6 separate regions of the Homo sapiens genome follow, and regions 2, 3, 4, 5 and 6 are each linked to region 1. Evidence: promoter capture Hi-C in 16 types of primary human blood cells and fetal thymus (Javierre and others, 2016). All regions are on one chromosome and are shown on one strand. Each heading gives the region's core, a stretch centred on a gene start or on the middle of the fragment in contact. The rest is flanking DNA. Distances are from core to core; before and after follow the strand shown.

Region 1 (4,502 bases), core at 1,328-3,827:
GGTTGCTGATAACAAAAAGGGCTCTGAATTAGACGTTTAAAAAAAATCAGATAGATAAGAGTAGATATCATGCCTAGACTCTCAACCCGGGCTAAGCAAAGCCTGAGTGAGCTTGTTCAGGTTTCAACCCAAGTGAAGCTGGACAAAATTGTTCATTTGTAGCTGTTCTTTATAAAGTTGCATGCACTCTCTAGCCAATATTTTCCACCCTCACATCCCAAGGGAACCATAGTAATGATAAAAACAAGTGGAGAGAGTGCTGAATATCAGTCCTCAATCACTCCCTCCCATAGCAAACAACCTATACAAGTGTCATGAAAAACTTCCCTGAGTGTTGGCAAAAAGCCGCTCTTGCAGTGTGCTTACGAGTTTAGTTTTTGAGCATATTGGTTTATCGATGGGAATATTTGTATTCTTAAAATCACAAGAGGTTGGCATAAGAAAATAAACTGCCAGGGATATTTGAAATGAAGTGCATTGTTCTGCTCAATGAGTCACATTTACAGACAGAGCCTTTGGAGCTGCCACACCTCTGGCCTTCTACTCTGAAGACACAGTGAACAAGCAGAAAAAAACTAGGGCTGGGAATTCAGTTTGGGAGAAAAGGCAGCTAAGCTGACCTTTGAACTTTAGGGTAAGACCCTTGGGCAGCCACGTAATGACCAGCGCCATCCCATTCTTCAAGGAGAGCACCATACTCAAGCACTGCCTGTCAAGAGGGAGCAAGAGGGAAACTGCTCTAGAACAGAGGAGATGCCTTCTAGAAAACAAGGGTGGGGGAAAGAATTTTTACACTATAACCCGGGGCTCCTTCACTATCTTGTTTTATTTACTTCTCCTGACTCCATTCATTCAGTCATTCAACAGAGAGTTTACTGAGATAGGTGCTGGGGAAGTACTGAATGAAAACAGACTCCATCCCTTCCTTCATACAGCAGGAAGCTGACAATCAATTATACAATATAAATTTGACATTGTTACCATGATCATACTGCAAAGGTGAGTTATCTGATGCTATGGAAGCATGAAAGAAGGGAATTTGACTTAGTTATGGAGCTCAGGCCAGGCTTCCAGGACACAGCTGGAATTTGAAGGAAAAGCAGGTGAGAAGAAGCATGAGAAAATGATTCAAGCAAGACAGCAAGGGGAAAAAAATTCCCTCAACATCTGTCAACATTGCAGTGCAATATCAAAGCCCAAGTTCAGAAGACTCCAACCTTGCTGGGAAGAAGAGTGACATCACACTGCCCATGAAGATGTTGAAAACAGACAATGTTGGTGAAATCCCTGTTGAGAGCAGGGACAGACCGTTTCCTAAATGCTACACTCCCCTCCCCAGAAATGTTCCGAGACGGGGCCACAGCAGGGAAGAGTCACAGGTTTTGCTTGCTGTGGACCTCTGACGCTGTGAATAAAACTTTTTCTTTAGTTTTACAATAGATGTCACTGTGCGGCATTCTTAAACACAAAGAAGAGGGAGAAACGAGGTTACTAAGATAATTTAGTAACTAAGAGAGAACATGATATATTGAAAAACAGTGGAATTTGGAGTCAGTTGGTTCATTCTAGTACGATGATAATACTCCCAACCTTGAACAAGTTACTTAGATTTTTTTGAACATTAGTTCTGTCACCCATAAAATAGGCATAATAAAATCCATCACTCAAAAAATGTTAGTTTCTTCTCTCATTGGCTAATTTTCATAATCAGAATTTCCAAGACTCATTATTTTCATTTGAAAAGTACAAATTATACCTGCATCAGAGTATTGATATTTAAATGAGTTCATTTGTAAACTTTAAAGCATGAGGTAAATATCAGGTATTATGAATCAGTCATAAAATATTTGCGATGGTTACTATATATTAGATCCTGTTTTTGGTCCTGGAGAAATGGAGGGTTGACTGAAGCAGGGCCTTGCCCTTAGGAGAGAGCTGAAGGAGAAATCTATTCTTCTTCCTGAGGCAGAGAGAAAAGGTAGCAAGGCCAGAGGGAAAGGGCTGCACAGGCACCCAAGTTCCTGGCAGTTGGCCCTCTCTGGGGGATATCTGATATCTGACCTCCAGCCATCAGCTGAGAGCTTGCCCAGACTATCTGACCCAAGGGCTGTAGGGACTGGGCTGCAGAATGGATTTCTAAATCTTCAAAATAAACAGGCAAGGAAATCTTGCAACAAATGAAAAATGACTTGAGGGCAGTAGAAAGTACTTGTGCCAACTGATGGAGGAGGTTATGAAAAATGAGGAGAGGAAAATCACTATAGACTTCTGTGTTTCTACTGCAAGTGGATTGAACAGTCCAGATATACTGATTTCCAGCCCATATTTCCTGCTTTTAAGCTCCTTTGGTCTTATTTCCCTCTTCTTTCTGAAAAGTTATAAAATGAATGAAGGGCAGAATGTTTCTTGCCCAACCATGATTCAGGAGGCAGCTCAGCCACAGAACAGGCAAGTGTAGCATTGCCTGGAGGAAAAGGACTTGTAGAGGCAGGTCCCAGATGGATCCACCCCAGACTTTTCAAAGAAGACACCTCCTTCATCTTGTGTTCTAAAACCTTGCAAGTTCAGGAAGAAACCATCTGCATCCATATTGAAAACCTGACACAATGTATGCAGCAGGCTCAGTGTGAGTGAACTGGAGGCTTCTCTACAACATGACCCAAAGGAGCATTGCAGGTCCTATTTGCAACCTGAAGTTTGTGACTCTCCTGGTTGCCTTAAGTTCAGAACTCCCATTCCTGGGAGCTGGAGTACAGCTTCAAGACAATGGGTATAATGGATTGCTCATTGCAATTAATCCTCAGGTACCTGAGAATCAGAACCTCATCTCAAACATTAAGGTGAGTGGAAATTATGAAATTGATACTAGCATCCCATTTGATCAGACCTGTAGCCTTATTTAGAAGCTAACTACCCTGCCTGGTTTGTATTTGAGTAATACAGAGAACAGCATTTTTAAAAGATAGCGCCACAACGTTATGATTATGGCTAACTAAGCCAGTTTGTTCATCTAATTCTGTGTAGTCTCAGCTCACAGAGTGTTGATCTAGCCCTCTATTTTGTTATTGTTGGTTGCTACTAATTTCAGCTCTTTTGTTTTCCTACATGACTGTTTTTGGGGTAGCAACTTAGAAAAATAACAACCCATTGTGGCAACAAAGATTGAATATTTAACTGATGAATAAGCATGATAATGAGCATGCTTGTTAAAATCATATTGCTAGATTCCATCCTGAGGGTGAGAATTCTCAGGCAGAAAGGGTGAGAGTCTGCACGGTGGGCCAAAAAGCAAAATTATTTCTTTTCACTTGAATGTGCTGTAACATAATTGACTATTTTTACTTTAATATGGCAAGGGAGGATCATAGCTCTATGATGTAAGAGCCTCCATTTAGTATTGCTTTAGTGAAATCAGTAGCATCATAAGGTGTGGTCTTGAATGTGCCCACAGGTGTGACATGAAAAGGATTTGTTCCACAAAAGCTTAAAAGCCTTTCTCAAAATTGGGAAAACTATGAAGGCAAGCACAGACATATAATTAGTGTCCTAAAATCTTCCATATAATCATTTAAAGTTTTTTTAAAAATTTGCTCCTATGTTTTCCCAAAGTCTAGGGCTTTCTCTAAAAGAAATGGGTCTCTTCAAAATATTTCATTGTCTTTTATTACTGTTTAAGCATACCAGAAAACCAAAACATACAGGATTTACAAGTGGTAAAGTAAGTTTTTCTTTTGTCTGGCTGTAGGAAATGATAACTGAAGCTTCATTTTACCTATTTAATGCTACCAAGAGAAGAGTATTTTTCAGAAATATAAAGATTTTAATACCTGCCACATGGAAAGCTAATAATAACAGCAAAATAAAACAAGAATCATATGAAAAGGTAAGAATCCAGGATTTCATTCAATGATCTCAAGGGGAAAAAAAACACCAAAATATACTGTGCTCAAACGATAAAAGTGAGAAGTTAAGTAAAAACAAATCATCAGTATTAACAATGCAAATAATATTAATGGGCAGAATGTTATCAACAAAATATATGAGAATAAATGAATGCAAATTGTGCAGTAAAAAATGAGTCAAATGCCATAGCCTAAGTAGTTTCTCAGAAGATCTCTTTATTTTGTAACTTATGGAGTACTTTCTGAAAAGTTTGGTTGAGGATCAAGAACTAGTTTTATCCTACTGAGGATGAGCTGCAAAGGGAACAGTTCCAATTATGACTATACCCATTTACCATCCTGTCAGGAGCAATAAACATGCATGTCCAGACAGAAATATAAACCACCATGCATATAAAAATATGACTGCCATCTTATGCCATGGTGTAGATTATCAGAATTTCACATTAGCTCAAGTCCAGAATATTGTTTTAGGGGAATAAGGAGATTAGAAGGAAGGGAGGAAGGATGTGGGGATGTGGATGAGTAGGGGAATGGCTACCTTTTTTTTTCCACCTATAGAGGAACTTCACCTTGAAAGGCTCTCATAAGTTGCAGATC
Region 2 (4,502 bases), core at 1,332-3,831, 480 kb after region 1:
TGAGATACTTGGAATTTCAGGTTCAGATACAGAGAAATCAAGGGTTAAATTTTGGCTGAATACTAACATTTCAAAGCTTGCCTGCTTGTTTTTCTTTTAGAACTCCGAAAATGCACTTACTGTTAAAAACAAACCTTTACTACCAATAATAATAACACATCATTATGCCTGAAAGCTTTACAAACCATAATACTTCAAACAGAATTCAGCATGTACAAGTCAAAGACAGTACTGGAAGGAAACAACAGAAATATGCTAACATTTTTTTCTCACTACAAACACAGGTATCTTACCAATTTAGTTTTAACTGGACAACTCAAATGATCTTTCCAGTCTACTTTATAATTTAAATAAATCTAAGAGTTTTGATGAAAATATTTAAAAGATGAGCAAGTTCACTATTAATTTGTTTGAACAGCAGGTTTTAAAACATAGTAGGTTTACCTGGAGAGACTGAACTACCTATCCTTGGCTCTGTTTTCAGATGTTAAAGGTGAGGTTAGGTGTCTCAAATTACTAGCAATAGGTGTGTAAACTAACAGTCCATATTCTTTTTAACCAGATTTCATGTTACAATTTATTGTAGACAATTAAGTGCCAGGTATTATGTGCTTTACTTTCATTTCAAGTTTCATCCAACACTGGGTTCTTACTATAAATGAACAAAAGCACCTATTATTTTTTGGCTTCATTTGGCCAGAAGTTAGGAAGACTGGAGAACTACAGGATCAAAGCATGTTATAGGGATTCTACTTCCCCTTTGCTTGACAATCATGGTGGAATGGGATCCTGGTATGCAACCATACTTCTCCTTCATATTTGCTTTGATTGAACTAATAGGCCAGACAAGAAATCAGTTGAGTTTTACTAAAAAATGTAAAAGCTTAGAGGCTTTTTTACACTTAAATTGATTAAGCAACTTACATTTTTACCTTATCTCAACTAAACCATCCAATGGAAGGAATATACTAGAAAACAGTACCTTTTTGGTTTCAAATTGTGCTTCCTCCTGACAGCATCCTCTGCAATCAGGATCCAGCTGAAGCAGGTTGAACTGTCCGAGAAGATCACAAGAGCTGCAAAGCAAGTTGCTAGAAAAGCCTAACTCTCTGCATGCCTCCGATGAAAACTCTGCCCCAAAAGCAGACACCTGAAAATAAAAAATGGGAAATAAAACACAATTCCATATTTATACTACAAAGCTTTCCAAAAAGAGAACACGGGGTTGTCAAAAACTAACACATTGAAGACAAGTTACTGAAATGTTTCATTTGGAGATAAATTCTTTTAAATTTTAATTTAATTTTATTTTTTTTTGAGACGGAGTCTTGCTGTCGCCAGGCTGGAGGGCAGTGGTGCAACCTCGGCTCACTGCAACCTCTGCCACCTGGGTTCAAGTGATTCTCCTGCCTCAGCCTCCCTAGTAGCTGGGATTACAGGCGCATGCCACCACGCCCAGCTAATTTTTGTATTTTTAATAGAGACGGGGGCCACGATGGTCTTGATCTCCTGACCTCGTGATCCGCCCACCTTGGCTTCCCAAAGTGTTGGGATTACAGGCATGAGCCACCTCGCCCAGCAATAAATTCTTTCTTAAACTCTGTAACCTTATGTAATAGTCTGGTTTCTCCCACCTCCCCTACAAGCTTTTTTTCTTAAACATCCATCATCTTTCAGCTTAGCTAAAATATGGATTAAGAAGAAAAGGCATATCATTGTTCATGATGTTTATCACATAAATATTTTCTTAAAGATTTATTGTTTTAAAAAGGAATTTTCTTATAAGAAAAAATAATTTTTGTTTCATTTTAAGAACTCAACATCTGTTCATATGGGTCTATGGAGTAAGATTAGCTGTAGGGTTTATCTACAGTCACATCCAGCAGAAGAAGGACGGGAAAGGGGATGGTGCAGGCAAGAGCACGCCAGAATTCAAACTTTTGGTTTTAGGTAATAGTGCCACCAGTTACAAGATTCGTGACCCTGGGCAAACTATCCTCCCTAAGCTTTAATTTCCTCACTCATAAATTAAGGGGCAATACTTCCTACATAAAACAGATTGCTATGGTTACCTTACATAAATCGTTACATTAAATCAGAGATGATTTAATCAATCAGAATGGCTGACAAAAGCAGGCTTTCAACAATATTCCCTTCCCTCATCCATTCTTTTTTACCTATCAGTGAATGTGGTATACCTCCATTTGTCTAAGGCCAATCCCTCTACTTCCTCTTTGGATTCTATCTTAACAGATACTTCATTTCATCAATACTTCAACCTTTAGCTATATTTAAGCCCTATGGTCCTAACTGCTCTTCCCACGTTCTGTCATTTCTGAATTGTTACTATAACTTGGTTTCTATTATCTTTATTTTTTCCTAACACCCCAAACTCATTAATATAGCCTGGTTTCTGCTCCTACTACTCCACAAAATTTGCCCAAAATTACCAAATGCAAAGGCATTCAAAACTGTTCTGCTTCAACTACCCCGTCCAAAGGCCTGTCCTCCTTTACTTTTCTCTTCTATGCATCTCTTAAATGCTATTGTTTCCCACAGTTCTGTTTTTGGCTCTCTCTTAGCTTTACATGCCTTCTATTTATTACTGCATATTTATCCATGGCTTCAGATATGCATTTATTGAAAACTCTCAAGTATTTTTCTTGAATGTCAGGCTTCCAAAGCCAACAGTCCACTCAATATCACATTTAGGTGTTGAATATGCATTGCAAGTTCAAAATCTGCAACACTGAAACTTATATTTTTCTTAAATCTATTCTTCCTAAGGTATTCAGTATCTTAGTAAAATGGCATCATTTCTCTGACAAGCTAGTTGCCCAGATCAGTCATCCTACTGACCTACACTCCATATTCTTCACCATTCTCACAACCAATTAATATATTTTTATAATTCTCTTAAAAAGCTCTCAAGTCTTTTCCTGCCTCAGTGGCTTAAATGCTCACTGCCAAGGCTACTTCTCATTACTTCCTCAATTCCTCCTGCTATAAGGAATTCCTATAGTATCTTGAAGTATAAAAGCCCTACTCAAACACACTTTTGCTCACAGTCTCCCCTATATTTAAGGTTCTGTTTCCACTTCTTCACCTTGTAACATCTTACTTATTTTCAAGAATCTAATCAGTATTAGTCTTTTAGGAAGCTTTCACTGACCAAAAAAATCAGATCTCAATCATTAGCCAGAGTACTTTTCTTCTCCGAGAAACTTGTGCACAGTTGTAAAACAGTACCGTTCGTGACACTGTACTATGTAAATCTGACTCCTCAACAATACTATGAACTCTTCTGAAGGCAAGCATTAAGTTGTTTCTCTGTCTTTCCCTCACTTGTGACAGTTTTCATATATCTGTTGGATAAATAAATCGCACAAAGCCATAGCGTCAGGTAGGGGAAATTTCAGATTGACTGCAACTGACTGATCTTCTAGACTAAGGGTATGCAAACTTTATGTGAAGGGCCAGATAATTTTGTTAGGCTTTTGTGGCCATATGGTTTCTGTACAACTATCTAACTCAGCCATGGCAGTGCAAAAACTAGTCACAGATAACACATGAATGAATGAATGTGTCTGTGTTCCAATGAAACTTTGCTTCATTTTGTTATGTTAATTTGTTCTACAAAAACTGGGTTGACTGAATTTGGCCCACCAGCTGCAGTGTGTCAATCCTTTTCTAAACTCACCAGGTAGATTAATATCCAGTGGCATTTCCCAATGAAAAGAAAATTTAAGTACTTGTTGGCATATTCACCCAAAATGCTGACGTGATATTTTATACATCTTTAATCTTATCTCTGTAATAATGTCATATGTATAATTTTTCAAAACAGATGAGACATCCCAGCCTAGTGGGAGGGAACTGTGACTTTATTGGTTAATTTGTGTGTTTGATCTCTCTAGTTTAACTATAAGACACTTGCTACCATACTAGTACTTTGGGTAATTTCTCCATCAGTAAAGTGATCTGCCTCATTTATTTCACAGGATAATTTGAAAATCAAATGTAACAATGAGCAGATTGTGTTTTCCAAAGACAAGACAATCAATATGTATCAAAGGCTGCATCAATGTGTACATATCATTTCACATGTTCTTACAATGTTAGTCCTCCACTGAGAAGTGGGGTCTATGTTCCCTCCCCTTGAATCTGGGCACGGGCCATGACTGTTCTGAACAACAGAGTTTAAAGGAAGTTATGTGATTCTGAGGGTAGGTCGTAAAAGAGCAAACAGCCTCTGCCTGGCTAGTATTCTTTCTTTCTAGGAACATCAACTTTGGAACTTAGCCAACCTGCTGTAAAGAAGTCTATACAAGAGAGACAACATGGAAGGGCCCATGTAGAGAGCAACTGAAAACTCCAGCTGACAACCAGTATCAGCTACTAGACATGTGAGTAAACCACCTTCAGATTTCAGGCCCTAGTGTTTCAACTGAGGTCTGAGACATCATAGAACAGACAAGCCATCCCTGCTGTGCCCTGTCAGA
Region 3 (4,502 bases), core at 652-3,151, 330 kb after region 1:
GCCACATCATAGAATATCACCATGATCATATTCACCTGAAGTTTTTCAAAGCATATGCTTCCAATTGCATGGTGTGATTATAAAACAATTTCTATCATATACTCATAAAATGACCAGCTTTATTTCATGTAACTTCCTGATGAATGCCTCAAGATAAATTTGTGTTATAATAACCCTAGGAAACTAAATGAATTTACCTTCTACCCAGGCTGTTTGAATGTAAATCAATTACATGTTACAGAAGACTGAAATGATAGTGGTTTTATAATCGTCCACAAGCCATTCTTTCTGAGAGCATTTACCTAGCAAGTCCAGTAGAAATTAAATTTGTGGTTGCGTACCTTCAAGCAAATTGTTCACTTAATTTCTCAGCCCCACAGATTTTTTTATCTGTAAAATAAAAGGATTAAACCAGATGATCTCTAAGGTCCATCTAGCTCTTGCTTCCTAACATGTTCTAAACAAGCCAAAGTTGTTCATGTTTTAATAATAACTAATGTTAAACCCACAATTATGAATTAACTTGAACAGCATACACATTTCTACTGGCAGCTCGTTGATGGGGTTGTTTTCTTTATATTTTAGAGTATAAAGCTCTTCAGTCTGAGCTTTCTACAAAAGGCTGAATAACACCTTGTGAGAAATTCTTTAGAAATCCCTCTCTACCTGGACTGACTTAGACCTCAAAAGGACCAACTCTGTGCTCAGACATTCTAGTGAATTCTAATGAGTATATATGAACAGTGGCACTCACAGTCTTAGGCATCATTGGGCTTTTACATCCCCTTGAAAAAGTTGCTAACACTTATTGAGCACTTTATGTGCTTTACCTTCTTTAAACCTGGCAAGAAAGTATACTTTCCCCCATTCTACAGACGAGAAAACAGAATTTAGAAAGCCACACAACTAGAAAAATGGCAAAGAAGTCTCATTGCTTGCCTTCCCAACTCCAAAGCCCAAGCTCTTAATCAGTGTGGAACACAGACACCTATTTTTGGAATGTGCCCCCTACATATGGTCAATGGTCCATTATTTCCTGCACTCTTCCCAGGTTAGTACTTTTCTTGGGGCAGAAAAAGTATTGCTCTTAACATAAAGCAGCTATAAACTGCTGCTTAACCAACTAAAGAAACCTACAAAGGTCATCAAGCCAAGCAGGGAGCTGCCAGTGCCATCACTGCCACAGCTGAAAGTGCAGAGAAATCAGTGTTGGTTTAAGTCAGGGCTTCTCAAAGTGCAGGTCCTGGAATCTGTCAGGGGTGGGACTCTGCCATCTTGTGGTTCAATAAGCTCTCCAGATGATTCTGATGCACATGTTTGAGAGCCACTTGTTTACATATAGCAGAGAAACCACCTGTCTCTCACCTCAAAGCTGACTCACCTGCAGAAACAATGAAAGATGATAATGACAGCCCCCCCAAAATACCTCCAAGCTATCAAATGAAACTAAAATGTAATATCATTTTACTGACTCTATCCAATAAATAGACCACTCATTAATGAGTAATTTGGTAAGCACGTGAACATGCTCAGGATATAATTTTTCCAGGAACAGGGAAAAGAGTCCATGGATTGGAAGTTTATTTTGAAATTCAGCTGTAAGGGAATACGTTCTATGTATCTGTCTTTTATCAAGGTAAGACAGCAATATAATTTTATTGTTTCTTTCTAGCCAGTGTCTCAGTTTCCACTGAGGGGTTTATATGCCCTATTCAGCAGGACAAGAGCACATTATTTTAAAAATAGATGCCAATCATTGGCATTTACCACATGCCAGTCACTGTGTGGGGTGCTTTACACATTCTCTAATTTCATTCCTGCAACAATGCTGCGAGGTAGAGATTGTCCTTCCTCTGCAGATGAGAAAACCAAAGTTTAGATAGAGACATTAAGTGTAAATCTGCTAAGCTCATTTCAAGACTCCTGAATCTCTAGAGAAAATAGATTTCCTGAGTAACATCTCCCTTTTCTTCTTTCTCTCGATGCTAATGCAACATTCCTTTACCCCAAGACTGCCAGGCACAGGAAGCCAGTGCTCTAGACCTTCCTTCATGGCCCATTCCCACTTTTCCTTTGACTCCCAGCATGAGCCCACTCTAGCTAATTTTAACACCATTTTCTGCAAACTTGAGGTCCCCAACACCCGGATAGCTGAGCTAGGTGGGCTGCTGAGACTAAAGGATCTATGGGTCCTGGGGGAGGAAAAGAATGCCCCTGGAGGGAAAAGGAAGAAGGGCAGTAGGTAGCAGAAGGCGTGGCTTGGATGGGGGAAATGTGTCAACAGTGATACTGACCATGAACACACTGAACAACTAGCAAAGAGAATGGCTGAAAATATGACTGCTCAATGGAGGAACTAAGGAAAATATAGTCATATTTGTAAATAGTTTATCATTTCTGTTTCACTGCCATACAGCACAACAACTAGGATGCATATTATTAAATGGGTTGGATTAACTTTGTGGGTTTGGATTATTTTGCTGGAATAGTGACTTCTTTACTACTGTGACAATGCTATACTACAGAGTTTGCTGAACACACAGCACAGCTGTCTGTTCACTGCTTCAGAATTGGAGAGACCACTGGTCATATCTATATTTCCCTAGTTTGGAGAACATATATCCATACATTCCAATGCAAAATGCAAAAACAATGACCTGAGTTTGGTAATAGATCCAGAAACTTGTTAAGCTCTTATCAGCCATGTGTCTGTATTAAAAACCACCTGGGCCAGGCGCGGTGGCGCACGCCTGTAATCTCAGCACTTTGGGGGGCCGAGGTGGGCGGATCACGAGGTCAGGAGATCGAAACAATCCTGGCTAACACGGTGAAACCCTGTCCCTACTAAAAATACAAAAAATTAGCCGGGCGTGGTGGCGGGCACCTGTAGTCCCAGCTACGGGGGAGGCTGAGGCAGGAGAATGGCATGAACCCGGGAGGCGGAGCTGGCAGTGAGCCAAGACCGCGCCACTGCACTCCAGCCTAGGCGACAGAGTGAGACTCCGTCTCGGAAAAACAAAAAAAAAAAACAAAAACAAAAACAAAACCACCTGGCTGCAGTTGAAAGATCACCTTCTATTTGCGGTCATTCACTATATTTGCGGTAACTTCACATCACTGATCACAGGAACTACAGTAATGGGCAGGGTGGCTGAGCAGGGATTCCTTTGCCTGTCTTCCCCAGTCCGTTCCCCAGTTCCTCTCTCCCAAAAGTCCTATCAACAGAGACCTTGCAACTTGAGGCAAAAAGTGAAAGAATAATAGCTGCAGTAACTTAAGTACTTGCTGCATACAAGGCGCTGTGCTTAAAGTGATTTACATTCATTATCTCATTTTAACAACCTGAGAGGTAGGTATGACTCTTATCTGCGTTTTACAAAAGGGGAAGTGAAGGCTCTTAAATCACATAGCCTGGTAGAGTGGTAGAGCCTGGGCTTTGACCCAGGGCTCCCTAACTCCAAAACACTTGCTCTCAATGTCTACAGAGGACTCCCCAATGCACTATTATACCATTTAACTTGGCTAATGGCCAGTGTTTAAAATGGATAGGAGCAGAGACTTATCCTATCTATAACCAAGGTAGAGTGCAGCCTCTGAAATACAGCTGAGCAAACAACTCAAGCACAGTTTGATGTTCCTGCCCAGTGGGTGCTATTCCAGGAACTGATATCCCTTCCCTCATGTTCCTTAAACATATGTGACACCCACTATTATGGTATTGACAATGGGCTGAGAACCCCCTTCTCAGTGTAAGCAGGGACTCTTTCTAACCTCTCCCTGGTATAGGAAATGAGCACCTCTTCCATTCTGTCTCCAGTCTACTTAGCTCTGTCAGTAACTTGTCCAAAGCTTCTTTGGAAACTCAGTTGATTGGAAAACAGAGTACATTTTATATAATATAAATGGTGATGAGGCTCTTAGGTCAGTGCACCAAAGCCTACTTAATCTGCAATGTGCCTGAAAATTGATGGTGCAGCCGAACCCAGAACAGTGCAGAGTTGTTGAAGACCCCTAAATTTCTCCAAGCCCAGGCTTTTTTATGCTCCTCTAGTTCCAGGGCAGTAACCAGCATGTAGTAGGAAATAATACTAGCTCGTGTTTTTTGAGCACTTACAATGTGCTTGACGGCACTGTACACCCATGATCCCATTGGACCCCCAAGGCAGCTCTAGGCAGTAAGCACAATTGTTAGCCTCAAGTAACTGAGGCGTAGAGAAGTTAAGTGACTTCCCAAGGTCACAGAGGTGACAAGTGATGGAGGATTAGAACCCAGGCAGTCTGGATCCAAAGTCAGTGTGACCAACCACCTGTGGGCCTTTAGTTGCCTGAAAGCGGGGAAGAGGACCCGAGGCTGGGCTGAGGCTCTGCTGTGTAGTCAGCTCCCACAATGCACACATGGAAATCACACACACAAGCAGGTGGGGAGTGGGCTGGACAGGAGGTCTGGTGAATCCCTCCACAAAGGTGAGGGAGAATATGACAGAGACATCCACACAAGCTTC
Region 4 (4,502 bases), core at 1,188-3,687, 310 kb after region 1:
CAATCTTAATAAGCCTTGTAGTAAAATGTTAGATACTGGTGAGTCTACCTCAGTACAATATTGTGGTCTGTCTCCCCCTTGCATTTGCCATTTAAGTTGACTATACAGCTAAGAACTAACTATAATTTTCCTTCACAGGCCCATCACCTTCGCTGTCTGAATGACTTTGTAGAAGCCCAGATGACTTACTATGCACAGTGTTACCAGTATATGTTGGACCTCCAGAAACAACTGGGAAGGTGATAATTTACTTTTCACATGTAAAGAGGAGAAATTCAGATTTTTGCTTATGAACTAATACTAAGGATGAAGATTAGAGCAATTAAAGGTTCTTACTAGCTTTCTTAGAAATAGTTTCTTTTTTTTAAGGAAAGTAATTATCAGTTTTCTGAGGTAACAGAATATTTTGAGCTTTTCTGGCACAGAGGCATGTTAACAGGGATGAGAAAAAGTGAATACCTTTTCAGTGCTGTAAGGTTAAAAGTGTTTCAAGTTCACTTTTCTCCTGCTACTGAATACTTTTTGCTATTGGTTGAGGAAGATATAATTAAATTGACAGTTACCCTTAAAGATAAACTAATTTATACTTATTCATTACTCATCTGTTTACTATATTGAAAAAAAGTTTTAGAATATTTCGTAAGACCTCATATCTACCGATGTGATTATTTTGAGTATGTTAATATACTTCAAAGCAAAATGACAGTATGTAAAACACAAAGCTCAATCACTCATTCATCACGTATTTATTGACTATCTGCCATGTGCCAAGCACTGTTACATATTGTGGGGTAATATCAGCAAACAAAACAGGCAAAGATGCTTGCCTTTATGGAGCTCACATTATAAGGTGACACTGAAAATAAAATAATGTTTAGGGCAAACATGGTCTCTGCTCTCACAACACTTAGCCTAGGTAGAAATACAAAGCAAGCCGTTGGTAGACAGGCCATGTGGTAGGCAGAAAAGCAGAAGGTGCCTGGTATTGTGAAGGCATCTAACTGTGACTGAGGTACATCTAGCAGAGTTTCCCAGGTGAAGTTATCTTGGTAGGAATAATCTAGATGAAGAAAGGGACAGGGATGAATATTCTAAGCAAGGAAGAATATGTTTATAAAAAAGCCAGAAGAAAGAGAGTAGGGAAAGTTCGGGGAACTGATAGTAGTCCATTCAGGCTGGAGCATAGTGTTCAAGAATGGAATGGTAGATGAATCTAGAGGAGTTAAGCAGGGTCATACCATGAATGGCTTTTAAAGTAAGTTGTTGTAAGGAGTTTGGAATTTATATATTGAGGAACCATTAAAGCAGGGGAGCGATATGTAGCATTTGAAGGATGAATATCAAAAAATCGTTTCAAGGAATAAGGTAAATAAAGTCACTTTGGTGTTTGTTTCTGCACATTAACACTTCAAAACTTGGCCTAGAATAAAATTGAGCACGTCCATGAAACCAATTTTGAACCTCAAAAATGAATGGTAGCCTAATCATTAGTTATTTTAATAGAATATACAGGAGCATTTACATAACTATATATTTGAGGTTTTATTAGTGGTGTTAATATCTCAAGGCAGAACAGCACTTTATCTTCACATCATTATAACTATTTTAAGCCCAAGAAGCCTTAGTACTTTTTTCCACTTTATCCTGAAACTCTGGAAGTGCGGCATAGGGGTTGCTTATACTCGCATTCTACTTAAAGCCACACTATGCTTAGGACTTGGCCATTTAAACAAAATCCAGTTGTTGCGTTATTACTGCTCTTTGAGATAAGCTCCAGCAATACAAAGTAAAACCAGTGCTACTATTCTAGAAAAGAAAGTCTAGCTTGTCTCTCCACCCTCAATTATATTATTGCTAATGACCAATGACATTGGAGGAAGTTTTATCTCTTTAATTTGTTGCAGGTTATGCTTTTTAAGATAATACATAGAAATATTCAAATATAGAACTTGACAAATCATCCAGCTTCACACTAACACATTCAAAAACTATTTATGAAGAAGAGAACCAGATTGTATTGTTAATAGTTGCAATAACAGTACCAACAGGTAGTAGAAGTAACTGAATAACAGCCATCACTTTGGTTGAGCTTAAGTTGTGCATAGGTGCTCTTCCAGACACCTCATGTGTATTATTAACTTTATAATCCTCACCACCAAATGAGGTAGGTACTATTATTATCCATATTTTAAAGATGAGAAAGCAGAAGTACTAGTCACAAGATTAGCAATTTTTTTAATAATTGGAAGGCTTTTGCATTTCAAGCTCCAGTGGCTTAATTGACATTTTTATAGAATGAGTAATTGCTATGATTTTTTAACGTATCAATAAAAGTTCTTAGAAGGTAAAAATGGCCTTTCAGTTCATTTTTTAAATCTTTAACTCTGCAAAATTGACATAGGTACACTTCAGTGGCTAATCAAAGGCTAAAATCATACTAGTAGATTTGGAAGTAAAATATGGTTAGAGAACTAAAAAAGCCATGTGTATATACATATTCATATAAATAGAGCTTTTTCTTATCTTCAGAAATGTATGTATTTAATCCCTACTGAAGAACCGAGTTCACTGAGGAAAGGATACTAGGACAGGTGGTCTTAATTTTAGAGAGGAAAAGCTATATTTAAAACTATTTCACCCTTTATCCATCAGAGAAACATTTGCTTTTCATTTTTAAAATGTACTGTTCCAGATGTGGGGGATATAGTATATAAATAAAATAATCAAAATTCCTGCCTTCCTGGAATCTACATTCTATATGGGGGCAGAAGGGAGCAGAAAAGCAATATGTATATAAATTATATAGTATATTAGAAGGTGAAAATGGTGTACCGGAAAATATAGCAGGAAACTACTTTGATGGGAGTAGAGAAAGACGTGAGAAAGCACACATGCAGGCATCTGAGAGAAGATGCTCCAGGTAGAGGGTGCAGCAAGTACAAAAACCCTGAGGGCATGACATAGCTGGTATGGTCAAGGAACAGCAAGGAGGGCTTGGCTAGAGACGAGTAGAGGAAACGGGGAGCCAAAACATATAGGGCTTCGACTTTGGTCTTTACTCAGAGATGAGGCGCCTTTGGAAATTTTGAGCTGAAGAGTGACATAATTTTAGGCTTTAACAGAATCATTCTGGCTGCCACGTTGAGGATAGGTGTTGGGTGGAAGCTGACTGATCTGTTTCAAACTTATTGCAATAATGTAGTCAGTAATTCAGTCAGAAGATGGCAGTGGCTTGGATCAGGGTAATTGTGGTAGGTAGGATGGAAGTGGTCAGGTCCTGTGGGCCTGTGGGTGTTGTTTGTTTTTTGTTTGTTTGTTTTGTTTTGTTTTGTTTTGTTTTTTTGAGACAGAGTCTTGCTCTGTTGCCCAGGCTGGAGTGCAGTGGCGCAATCTCGGCTCACTGCAAGCTCCTCCATCTGGGTTTATGCCATTCTCCTGCCTCAGCCACCCGAGTAGCGGGGACTACAGGCACCCACCACCACACCCAGCTAATTTTTTGTATTTTTAGTAGAGACAGGGTTTCACCGTGTTAGCCAGGATGGTCTCGATCTCCTGACCTTGTGATCTGCCCGCCTCGGCCTCCCAAAGTGCTGGGATTACAGGCGTGACTGTGGGTGTATTTTAGACTTAAAGCCAGAAGGATTTGCTTGACAGACTGTATGTATATTGGACACAAAGAGGTCAAGAATTATTGCAAGGTTTTGTTTTGTTTTGTTTTAGAGACAGAGTTTCACTCTTCCAGTCCAAGGTGGAGTACAATGGCGCAACTTCGGCTCACTGCAACCTCTGCCTCCCGGGTTCAAGAGATTCTCCTGCCTCAGCCTCCCAAGTAGCTAGGATTACAGGTGTGCGCCACCATGCCCAGCTAATTTTTTGCATTTTTAGTAGAAAAGGGGTTTCACCATGTTAGCCAGGCTGGTCTTGAACTCCTGGCCTCAGGCTATCTGCCCGCCTCAGCCTCTCAAAGTGCTGGGATTATAGGCGTGAGCCACCACGTCCATCTGCAAGTTTTTGACCTAAGTAACTGAAAGAATGGGGAGTTGTAGATAGTTAAAATGGGGAATGCCAGAGGAGGCAAAGATTTCAGGGATGGAGGTCTGGGAAGTATGTCAGTTATATTAGAAGCCCAGTTTTAAATATGTTAAGTTTGAGATGTCTCTTAAACATTTAAGTGGAGGTATCCAATTTTAGGATATGCAGGTCTGGACTTGGATTGGGGGCAGGGTGAATTAGATAATTAGAGAGTTGTCAGCATATCAAAGATATTTAAATCTGTGAGACTAGATAAACCCTCAAAGGAGTAAGTATAGAGAAAAGGAGAGGATCAAGGACTGATCCCTGAAGTACTCTAGCATAGAGAGTTGAGGAACGAGGCAAGGAAGATGATAACGAGTGAGGCAGTGAGGTAAAATGGAAACTAAGAGTATGGCCTGGAAGTCAAGTGAACATGTGTGAAAGTGGGAGAGAATGGTCACTGCCTAGGTCAAGTGAGAGGACTACGA
Region 5 (4,502 bases), core at 726-3,225, 290 kb after region 1:
CCAAGGCTTTACAAAAGCTATTTAAGCTGTTATTTCTAGCCCCTAAACAGGAGCCTCAGTGGAGATTGTAACCAGAAGTCTAAGAATAGAATTCTAGAGGATCCTTCAGCTTAAGGTGTTGATAATAACCTGAAAGTATTAAACCAAGAAGAAGGATGCTGAAAGAAACAATAAAACTCAGAAAATAGAGTAGCAAACGAGATTTTTGAGAAACGAAAGGAGAGAAAGGCAAGGTGAACACTGTTTTGTCAGCCAGAAGTGAGTCATTACTGAGCACAGAATTAATGCTAGTGATATACCTGTGTTAAGATGGGAGGAAGCCACATATTCTAGAGGAAAATGATGCATGATAAACAGCTTGAGTCATCACCTCTAATGTTTAATTAAAAGTATCCAGAAGGCTGTAGATCTACACAGAATCTTTTTACTGCTTTATTATTATATAGGCAGTGCTACCTTTTCTCAAATACCAGTATATTCAATAATAAAAATTGATTCATTGAGTACGTTTAACCACATTTTATGACCTTTAAAAGATGTCTTCATAGTATGAATAGGATATGTTCCAAAAGTTAGTCTATAAATAAATTGCTGGAACATATCCTCAGCAGCTTAAATGACAGGTTTTATGGTATGTTCTGGGAAACTATTTATCTAACTAGGTGTGATTAAAGTGCTAATAAGACATAAACCACAATAAACATTAACAGCTCTTTCAAAACTTAATAATTACAAGGCACCAAACAAAGTGATTTGCATACACAATCATACTTAATCCCCCAAACACTATAAAATATGTATTGTCTCTCTTTTATAATAGAGGGTACTAAAGAAAAAATATTCAATACATTGCTCAGCTCACACAGCAAGGAACAAAGTTAAGATTTGAATTCAGATTCAACTGACTCAAAGCTCTTACTCTTTACCGTTATCCTAGTCTACCTAGGATAGGTAGTTGAAATAGTTGCATGCTTTATATACCAAGAAGTATACTTAGGTTTTCTGTAGAATTCACACCATACATTTTAGCAGAACTAAGGGTATGTGATGACTGTAAGGTAGGGTCATCCACAAAAGAAGTATGGATAAATTACCATAGGAGCAAAAAAAAGTATTCATAAGCAATGGCTTACAAAGCTGGAGCATGGTTATTTGTATGTTTAGGATTGTTTAGCTTTGAATTTGCTTTTTACTTATTGATATGGTTCCCTAAAATTTATTTGCAGTATATTTAATTTTTGTTTTACAATCAATAACAGTTCACAGAAGAAAAGCTTGGCCAGGCTGAGAAGACAGAATTGGATGCTCACTTAGAGAACCTCCTTAGCAAAGCTGAATGTACCAAAATATGGACAGAAAAAATAATGAAACAAACTGAAGTGTTATTGCAGCCAAATCCAAGTAAGAAACTCTACCTCTTGTGTACCTTAAGTACTATTAGTGGGTTTTTAAATGTTAAAAAAAAAAGTTTTAATGGCCATCTGAAAACATAGGATTTTTTTATTGTAGCTTCAAGGTCAGTGGGTTTTTTTGTGTGTGCTTTTGTGAAGAGGAAGTGATAAACAGCTATGTACCTAACCAATTTTAAAATGATATTTTTCAGTCTTTTATAGAATCCTTGTAAAAAATCTCAATTTTAGGCAGTGACTTTGAATTTTAATTTATGAGCAGCTGTGTATATAAATATGTTTTCCTTTTTCATCTAGGGAAGAATTGTCCCTAGATAATTAAGACAAAGTTATATAGTTGCTTAAGTAGGTACCATTTTTTATGTTTAAGTTTTTGGTGTGTTTTTTTGTTTGTTTGTTTGTTTGTTTGTTTGTTTTTTGAGACAGAGTCTCGCCCTGTCGCCCATGCTGGAGTGCAATGGTGTGATCTTGGCTCACTGCAACCTCCACCTCCCAGGTTGAAGCAATTCTTCTGCCTCAGCCTCCCAAGTAGCTGGGATTACAGGCATGTGCCACCACGCCCAGCTAATTTTTTTTTGTGTGTGTGTCTTTAGTAGAGATAGGGTTTCACCATGTTGTCCAGCCTAGTCTCGAACTCCTGACCTCGTGATCCACCTGCCTCGGCCTCCCAAAGTACTGGGATGACAGCCATAAGCCACTGCGCCCCGCCTATGTTTAAGTTTTACATTTTCACATAAATTATTTCATTTCATCTTCAGACAACTATGAGATTTTCAGATAAGTCAACTCAATAATCTTGCAGTTAAGGTGCATAATTGTTTAGTGAATGAAACTCATGAGTTAGCATCTTGTCAAATGTAGCATAGCTAATTAGAAGTGGAAATTGGACTAGAACCGGGTGTATGAACATCCAGTCTTTTCACTGTGAGCTTTGCATATCAAAACTGAAGAACAAAGGTACAATGTATGCTTTCCTTCTTTTTTCCCCAACTTGTTTGGGACCAAGTTGTGATATGACATATGCTTACTTTTAGATACTAACTTAAACTTCAAGCACTATATAAATATTAGCAGTTCTCTATCATTTTAGTTAAATAGTAGTGACTTTTTAAATACACCTTTTGGTTGAAAAACTTAACTGTTGAGTTCTGTGCTCAGTACCTGGGTAACAGGTTCATGTGTACCCCAAACTTCAGCATCATTCAGTATACCCAGGTAGCAAATCTGCATGTGTACTCCTTGAACTAAAATAAAAGTTGGAAATAAAATAAGCTTTTTGCACTTTGAGTGAGTCCTAATGTCTTTGGACACCATGTAATATTTTTTATTCATTTAAGGCCATTTAAATTCTACACTCTGGCACTTTTATTAAAAGTAATAGACATTTTTCCCCTTGTTCTAAACATATTTTTCTGAATGGGAAATAAGCTCATTCACAACTGGTAAACAGGGAAATAAAATACAATTTCCTCCTGCCCCTGTTTTGTGCCAGGAAGTCGTAATAATTGTTTTTGTTTTTTGTTTGTGCTGTGGTTTTTTTGTTTTGTTTTGTTTTGTTTTGTTTGAGACAGAGTCTTGCTGTGTCACCCAGGCTGGAGTGCAGTGGTGTGATCTTGGTTCACTGCAACCTCCACCTCCTGGGTTCAAGCGATTTTCCTGCCTCTGCCTGCTGAGAGTAGCTGGGATTACAGGTGTCCACCACCATACCCGGCTAATTTTTGTATTTTTAGTAGAGACAGGGTTTCTCCATGTTGGCCAGGCTGGTCTCGAACTCCCGACCTCAGGTAATCTGCCCGCCTCAGCCTCCCAAAGCGCTGGGATTACACGTGTGAGCCACCATGCCCAGCCTGTGCTCTGGTTATTAAGTTACATAGGTTTTGAGCAGCCAAACCTAACACTCCTTTTCTTGTAATTCCTATGTTGTTTTCAATGTATGATCTTCTGGAAATGGGTTTTTCAAAAATACGTTATGCAGAAATACATATTACATTGTAGCAGAGTTGCCTGCATATTTAAGATTTTATTATAACCTATTGAAATTAAACATTTATTAGTATTCCAAATATTTTATTAACTGAACGAAGTCAGCATAAGATTCCATTTTAAACTTTTGGCCAGATAGGTGGAAAAGCAGTCAAAATTAAGAATCAGAGTCAAAACACAAAGCTGTTTTTTTTTTTTTTTGAGACAGAGTCTCACTCTTTCACCTGGGCTGGAGTGCAGTGGCACAATCTCTGCTTACTGCAAGATCTGCCTCCTGGGTTCAAGTGATTGTCCTGCCTCAGCTTCCCGAGTAGTTGGGATTACAGGCATGCGCTACCACACCTAGCTAATTTTTGTATTTTTTTTTTTAGTAGAGACGGGGTTTCACCATGTCAGCCAGGCTGGTCTCAAACTCCTGACATCAAGTGGTCTACCTGCCTTGGCCTCCCAAAGTGCTGGGATTACAGGCATGTACCACCACACCGGGCCAAAATGAAGTTCTGAAATTTAACTAGTATCTTCTAAATGGTTATGTTTTAAAAAGCTCTTTTTGGTTTTAACTATTTAAAGGTATTTAATTTCTGCTTTAAAACTTCTGATTTTGTACTAGAATCTACCACAAAAGCAAGTATCATTGCTATACTCTATTTTATGTATTATAACTAAGCCTTTTACCAACTCCTGAAATGTTTCTGTTACTGGTTCAGCTCATTTTTTAAATTTTCAGTGCACTGTGTGAAACTTCCGCATGCGTAGGAATCTATGTGAGGTACTTAGAGGGAACCTATTTGACTTAGCTTCAATTTATGCTTAATCGTTGTTTCTGGAAACTTAAGCCATTTTTTCACTTGTCCTGAAATACCTCTAGGTTGGACAGCATTGTAAATGTTAATATCTTTGGTCTTAAGCATTTTGCTAACCAAGTGTTTATTCAGCTTTTGTTTTTTTCCCCTTTCCATTTATTCTAATGTTCTATTATTGCTTTAACCTTTCGTATTTTAAACTTATTTTTAATGATGAAATCTTTTGAGTGAATGCATGCTCAGAGATATACTTGTATACTTTAAACATAAACTAAAGCCAAGGCATCATATTGCTGATCTGTCTGTA
Region 6 (4,502 bases), core at 1,412-3,911, 270 kb after region 1:
AGGGCTCAGGAGATTGATTTGACTAGGCATGTCATTCACATAGCCCATGAAAAAGCTGGCGCTCCCATCCTAGCCTTTTAATATGCAAATGTAAGGCATCATGATGTTCTACACACGTGGGGATATGTGGGGGTAGGCATGTTGCCAGGAACATGTGGGGCAAGGGCAAGAAGGCTGCAGGAATTACCATGTTTGGGTGGACGCAGTTTCTAATAGCCTGTATTTGCATATCAAAGGTTGCCGGCCTGGCTCTAAGAGCGGGGGCTTTACAAGAAATATTTCCAGAGATGCTTTTAAAAATGAAAACTTCCCAAGGACCCCTTTTCCTCTCTATCTGCCTAAAATAATTTCTTAATAACTCCTACAACATTCCCCCCCACCGGGGAGAGGCCACACTAACTGCTGTTAGAGGGTTTGGAGCGATGACTTCTTCTGGCTACTTACGGCTGAAAAGGGGCATCGAATGGGGAACAGCAGCTAGGGCTCCTCCTGGGGTGGATCTAAGGGTCCTCAGAAGAATGGCGTGTCCATGTGGGGTTCAGTTTGCAGCACCATTTGGAGTTTGATTGCTTCTAGGTGAGAAGAAACAATTCGAGTTATAGTATTGAGTATACAGGGTCCAAATATCAATACAAGACATATAAGCAAGAGAGGGCTTAATAAAGGGGTTAACCAATTCCATAAAGAAGGCTGGAATTTATTAAAGAGGGATTGTAGCCATCTGGGGCTGAAGCTGGCATTTTCCCTGAGCCTGTCAATAATTTTGATTTGATCTTTAAGTACCTGTAGATTTTTCTCTACTTTACTAGGTGTTAATCATCACTAAACCCAATAAAAAGTCCTAGCAGACTCAGTGATAGTAAAACTTTTATGCTTCCTTTTTGTCAGTAACTATTATTCCTACTATAAGGATAATAATTAAGCAAAATACAACAGCAATGGAAACTCTGTTCAATATTTCAATTAGAAGGTGCTACCATGTATAACCCTATTGCAAATAGTAGAGTGAGTATAGCAGTTCCCACAAGTGTGGTGTAGTAGATAATTTCCATATAAAATTTTACTTGCCAAGATATAGAATTTCCCTTTGGCGGTCTGTGAAGCTTTGCTTTTATTTTCCCAAACAAAGAAAACTCCAGGTTATGGATACCCTACTTACTTTCATTACCTGGCAGAATTTGCAGTATAATTGCCCAGAGCTAGTGTATTGATTCAGATTTTTACGTTACCCATCCCTTTTTATTTCTTCCAAGCTGCAGAAGATTACCATTTTATTCACAGGAATAAGAAGGATTAGTTTAAAATGTAAGCAAAAATCTTAAAAACAATTGAGATGAGGATTTAATGACAAATGTATGATAAGCTTTGGAGCAAAATTTTTCTCTCCAGTTCTCATTTTTGGTCAAAACTAATCATGAATGAACTTTAGTCTTATACTTGGCTTGATTATTTGCATGAAGTGCAGTAAGAATAGTTATTTCTACATAGGTCTCTTGGATTGGCTTTGATGAAACTCTGTTCCACAAGGAATCTTAGATAAGACCTTTAAAGCCGAGCCCAGCAATGGGTCTGTATCCTCAAATACCTGTGAGTTGGGTGATCCTCACTTCTTGAGGTCCCAAGAGAAACTCCGAGCTTCCAGACCTGTTAGAAAGTGACATTCTTTATTGACTACAGGTTAGGAACCCTGTGCGGGGACTGTATAGACAAGGTATGAGGCCAGTTCTCCAAGGGGCTTTTATTGGCTCTGCATGTCAAGCTTGATTCCTTAAAGGGAAACACACCATTTCAGCCAAAGCCTTGGTAAAATAACCAGTTTATCCAATTGTGTCCTGTTGACAAAGAAAAATGCATTCTTATTGCACTGATGCAAACAACTATACTGCCATAAGTTAAGAGTACTTACAGGTAGTCTCCAAATTTTAGAGGAACCAGGTGGAGATAAATGAACATGCTCCAAATTTTGTTTACAGTAGTATACCTTACTCAATTATTAATGGCCATTAATAGTTTAAAATAAGTTTCCTTGACTCTGAAAAACAAAACAAGGATCAGCAATATTCCAAGCAAAAGTTAAAAAGATTACTTAAACTTTTTGAATGCAGTCCACTTAGTTAACTCTTGTTTTGCTTAATATTTGTGAACATGTCAGTTCTATAACTGTCTTTATTTTTACAGTGTCTTGCTGTTTTCTTCAGATTTTAATCTTCCTTTACTTTTCATTCTGTTTATCTTCTATTTCAAATCTTATTTATCACAGCCATGCAAATGACTCCAAAGTGTCTATCTTTAACCCAGTGTTCATTCCCAAGCTTTAATCACATATTTCCAATTGCTTTCTAGACATTATTAGACATCTTATGCCTCATGCTGTGAGATTTATCTGACTACTCAAATAATGTATCCATTCTGTGACTTATGATAGCACTCACCTCGCTTGATACTTGGCAATAGCCAGTGTAGGTCCTCTTTGCATGTGAATAGGACTGCATGTCTCTGAGTACAGGAATCATGTTTTGTGCTTCTTAGAAGACTTCTGGGTATCTTTAACTCTACCACGACCACTTGAATACCTCCCAAGCCAGGCTTTCTTAGATTCAACTTTCCATATTATCTCACGTATGCACATCGTTTAACAAAAAAAAGATTATATCTTATATTGCTGTCCTTCATGGAACTTAGCATAGGGGTTGCTCATAATAGGTGTTTGTTAGATGATCATATTGGTAAGTAACTGGCAAGTGGATCCTTTTAAGTTTTTCCTTGGTAACTTAAGAGCTTAAACTTATACCACATAATTTGGTGGCGTTGTCTCCTTACTCCCATACCTCAAAGCGTCAGTAAATACACTGATATTTACCTTTCAGGACAAGAAGCTAATTGCTAGTATGAGTCATATTAACTTAAATTCCAACAATGTGAGCCAAACTGTTATTTTACTTTTCCTTTTAGTCTTCATCTCAAGTCACAAGGTAATATCAGTAACTAAAGTATAAAATAAAATTATAGTTAAGCTTTATTTTAAAGTGGAATGAGCATTCAGTCCTCAAAGTAAAAACATGGGCATAATGGGAAAGAAGCTCTTTGAAAGAGAATAGCATTGCCAGTAGTCTAGCACTTTTATTCAAGATTGAAGAATGCAGTGAACTACATGATTCCAGGATCTTAAGTGTAATAGGAAAGAAATTATGTCATTTTGAGGTGAGGAGAAGTTTTGGTTTGTTGGCTAACATCTATGGCAAGGCATGCAGATTATGTCAAAAGCTAGGGTGTTTTGTTTTGCTTTGTTTCTCATCCGAAATAGAAAGCAGATTTGCCCATTATATCAATCATTAAACCAGAAATACTACCTAAAATTAGATTCCTTACACATATTGGAGAAGAGACTGTTTTTTCTCCTTTTCTCTGCCTTTTATACAACGTATACATTCCTGTTGTAAAACACAAAGGCAGATTTTCAGTATATGGGATTAAATATGAACTTTCCTCTTTACCTTCCCAGTCCTTTTCCTCTCCCCAATCTTTCTCTGTATGTATAATTCTGTATCAGTGTGAATGTGTGGATATATATTTATATTATTTCATAATAAAATGGAATCACACTGTAGGTATATTGTATGACTTTCTTTTTTCTCTTAACAATATAATTTAGAATTTTTTCCATTTCAGTACATATTTGTCTCCATAATTCTTTTAACTTTTCTATAGTATTTCACATTGCGAATGCACCATACTTCATAAAACCATTTTCTTACTGATTAACATTTCCAACTCTTTGGTATTAAAAACAGTGTTGCACAAAAGCTTGTATACTTATCTTTGTACAAATATGCTTTGGATAGATTGCTATAAGTAGAATTGCTGGGTCAAATTTAAATTTTACTTAATATGCCAAATTACCCTTCAAAATATCTTTATCAATGTGCACTTCCTCATATTGTGTTTGAGAATGCTTGTTTTCCTACATACTCCAATAACACTGGACATTACTGGTGACTCACTGCTTAACTCAAAGTAAAAATAATAAAAGCAATGTAAGTTGGTAGAGAGACAAATGCAAGACGAAAGAAAAAAATAAGTTCTAATTACCTCATCTTTAACATGGTAAGTTAATAGATGATGTCTAAGATTAAAACAGGTGATTTAGAAAAAAGAAGAAGGAAGAAGAAAACCTCACATAAAATGACTCCAAGAGGGGTCTTGTAGGATCTAATACCTCTGTGGGAAAGAAATAACATGAGGTTTATTCATTTTTTACTTGTTTTTTATTTCTGCTAAATTTAAATTAATTTAATTTAATACCTTTTATAACTTACTCTTTTTCTTCTTCCTCTGTGTATGTCTCTCACTCAATTTTCATTGTATTTCCACACATAAAGAGATATCACTGGCTATTTCTGGATAGTGGTACTTGGATTGCTGGCTGCTTTCTTCTTTGTCCCTTTCTATGCTGTTTGAATATTTTAATGAGTATCCATTATGTTTATTAAATCAACAAAGGT

Evidence for each region. The method cuts DNA at HindIII sites, captures the fragments that hold promoters and counts their contacts. A CHiCAGO score of 5 or more calls a contact.
Region 2: a fragment that was not itself captured here is called in contact with the fragment with the promoter of CLCA2 in region 1 in 1 of 17 cell types (monocytes); the score reaches 5.2 in monocytes.
Region 3: a fragment that was not itself captured here is called in contact with the fragment with the promoter of CLCA2 in region 1 in 1 of 17 cell types (naive CD4 T cells); the score reaches 6.5 in naive CD4 T cells.
Region 4: a contact is called between a fragment that was not itself captured here and the fragment with the promoter of CLCA2 in region 1, in 9 of 17 cell types (total CD4 T cells, naive CD4 T cells, naive CD8 T cells and 6 more). The highest score is 9.0, in total CD4 T cells.
Region 5: a fragment that was not itself captured here is called in contact with the fragment with the promoter of CLCA2 in region 1 in 3 of 17 cell types (fetal thymus, naive CD4 T cells and total CD4 T cells); the score reaches 5.6 in fetal thymus.
Region 6: a contact is called between a fragment that was not itself captured here and the fragment with the promoter of CLCA2 in region 1, in 8 of 17 cell types (total B cells, naive B cells, erythroblasts and 5 more). The highest score is 10.7, in total B cells.

Annotation. Positions count from the first base shown.
Region 1 is chr1:86,421,594-86,426,095 of GRCh38, forward strand. CLCA2 (chloride channel accessory 2) reads left to right here and starts at 2,578. Exons shown (of 14, transcript NM_006536.7): 1 at 2,578-2,840; 2 at 3,746-3,883. The coding sequence starts at 2,655. The HindIII fragment of the contact is 7,161 bases long and covers 1-3,481 here.
Region 2 is chr1:86,902,299-86,906,800 of GRCh38, forward strand. SELENOF (selenoprotein F) reads right to left here. Exons shown (of 5, transcript NM_004261.5): 2 at 983-1,150. Among named protein-coding and RNA genes, the nearest start is that of SELENOF, 9.6 kb to the right of the region's middle. The HindIII fragment of the contact is 1,155 bases long and covers 2,005-3,159 here.
Region 3 is chr1:86,752,617-86,757,118 of GRCh38, forward strand. No RefSeq gene overlaps it. Among named protein-coding and RNA genes, the nearest start is that of SH3GLB1, 50 kb to the left of the region's middle. RefSeq lists enhancers at 1,193-1,252, 2,924-3,424. The HindIII fragment of the contact is 3,892 bases long and covers 1-3,847 here.
Region 4 is chr1:86,734,941-86,739,442 of GRCh38, forward strand. SH3GLB1 (SH3 domain containing GRB2 like, endophilin B1) reads left to right here. Exons shown (of 9, transcript NM_016009.5): 7 at 139-239. Among named protein-coding and RNA genes, the nearest start is that of SH3GLB1, 33 kb to the left of the region's middle. The HindIII fragment of the contact is 6,030 bases long and covers 1-4,502 here.
Region 5 is chr1:86,714,465-86,718,966 of GRCh38, forward strand. It overlaps SH3GLB1 (SH3 domain containing GRB2 like, endophilin B1), which reads left to right. Exons shown (of 9, transcript NM_016009.5): 2 at 1,260-1,401. Among named protein-coding and RNA genes, the nearest start is that of SH3GLB1, 12 kb to the left of the region's middle. The HindIII fragment of the contact is 1,407 bases long and covers 1,273-2,679 here.
Region 6 is chr1:86,692,719-86,697,220 of GRCh38, forward strand. CLCA4-AS1 (CLCA4 antisense RNA 1) reads right to left here. Exons shown (of 5, transcript NR_135837.1): 3 at 4,303-4,502; 4 at 445-572. Among named protein-coding and RNA genes, the nearest start is that of CLCA4-AS1, 9.5 kb to the right of the region's middle. The HindIII fragment of the contact is 702 bases long and covers 2,311-3,012 here.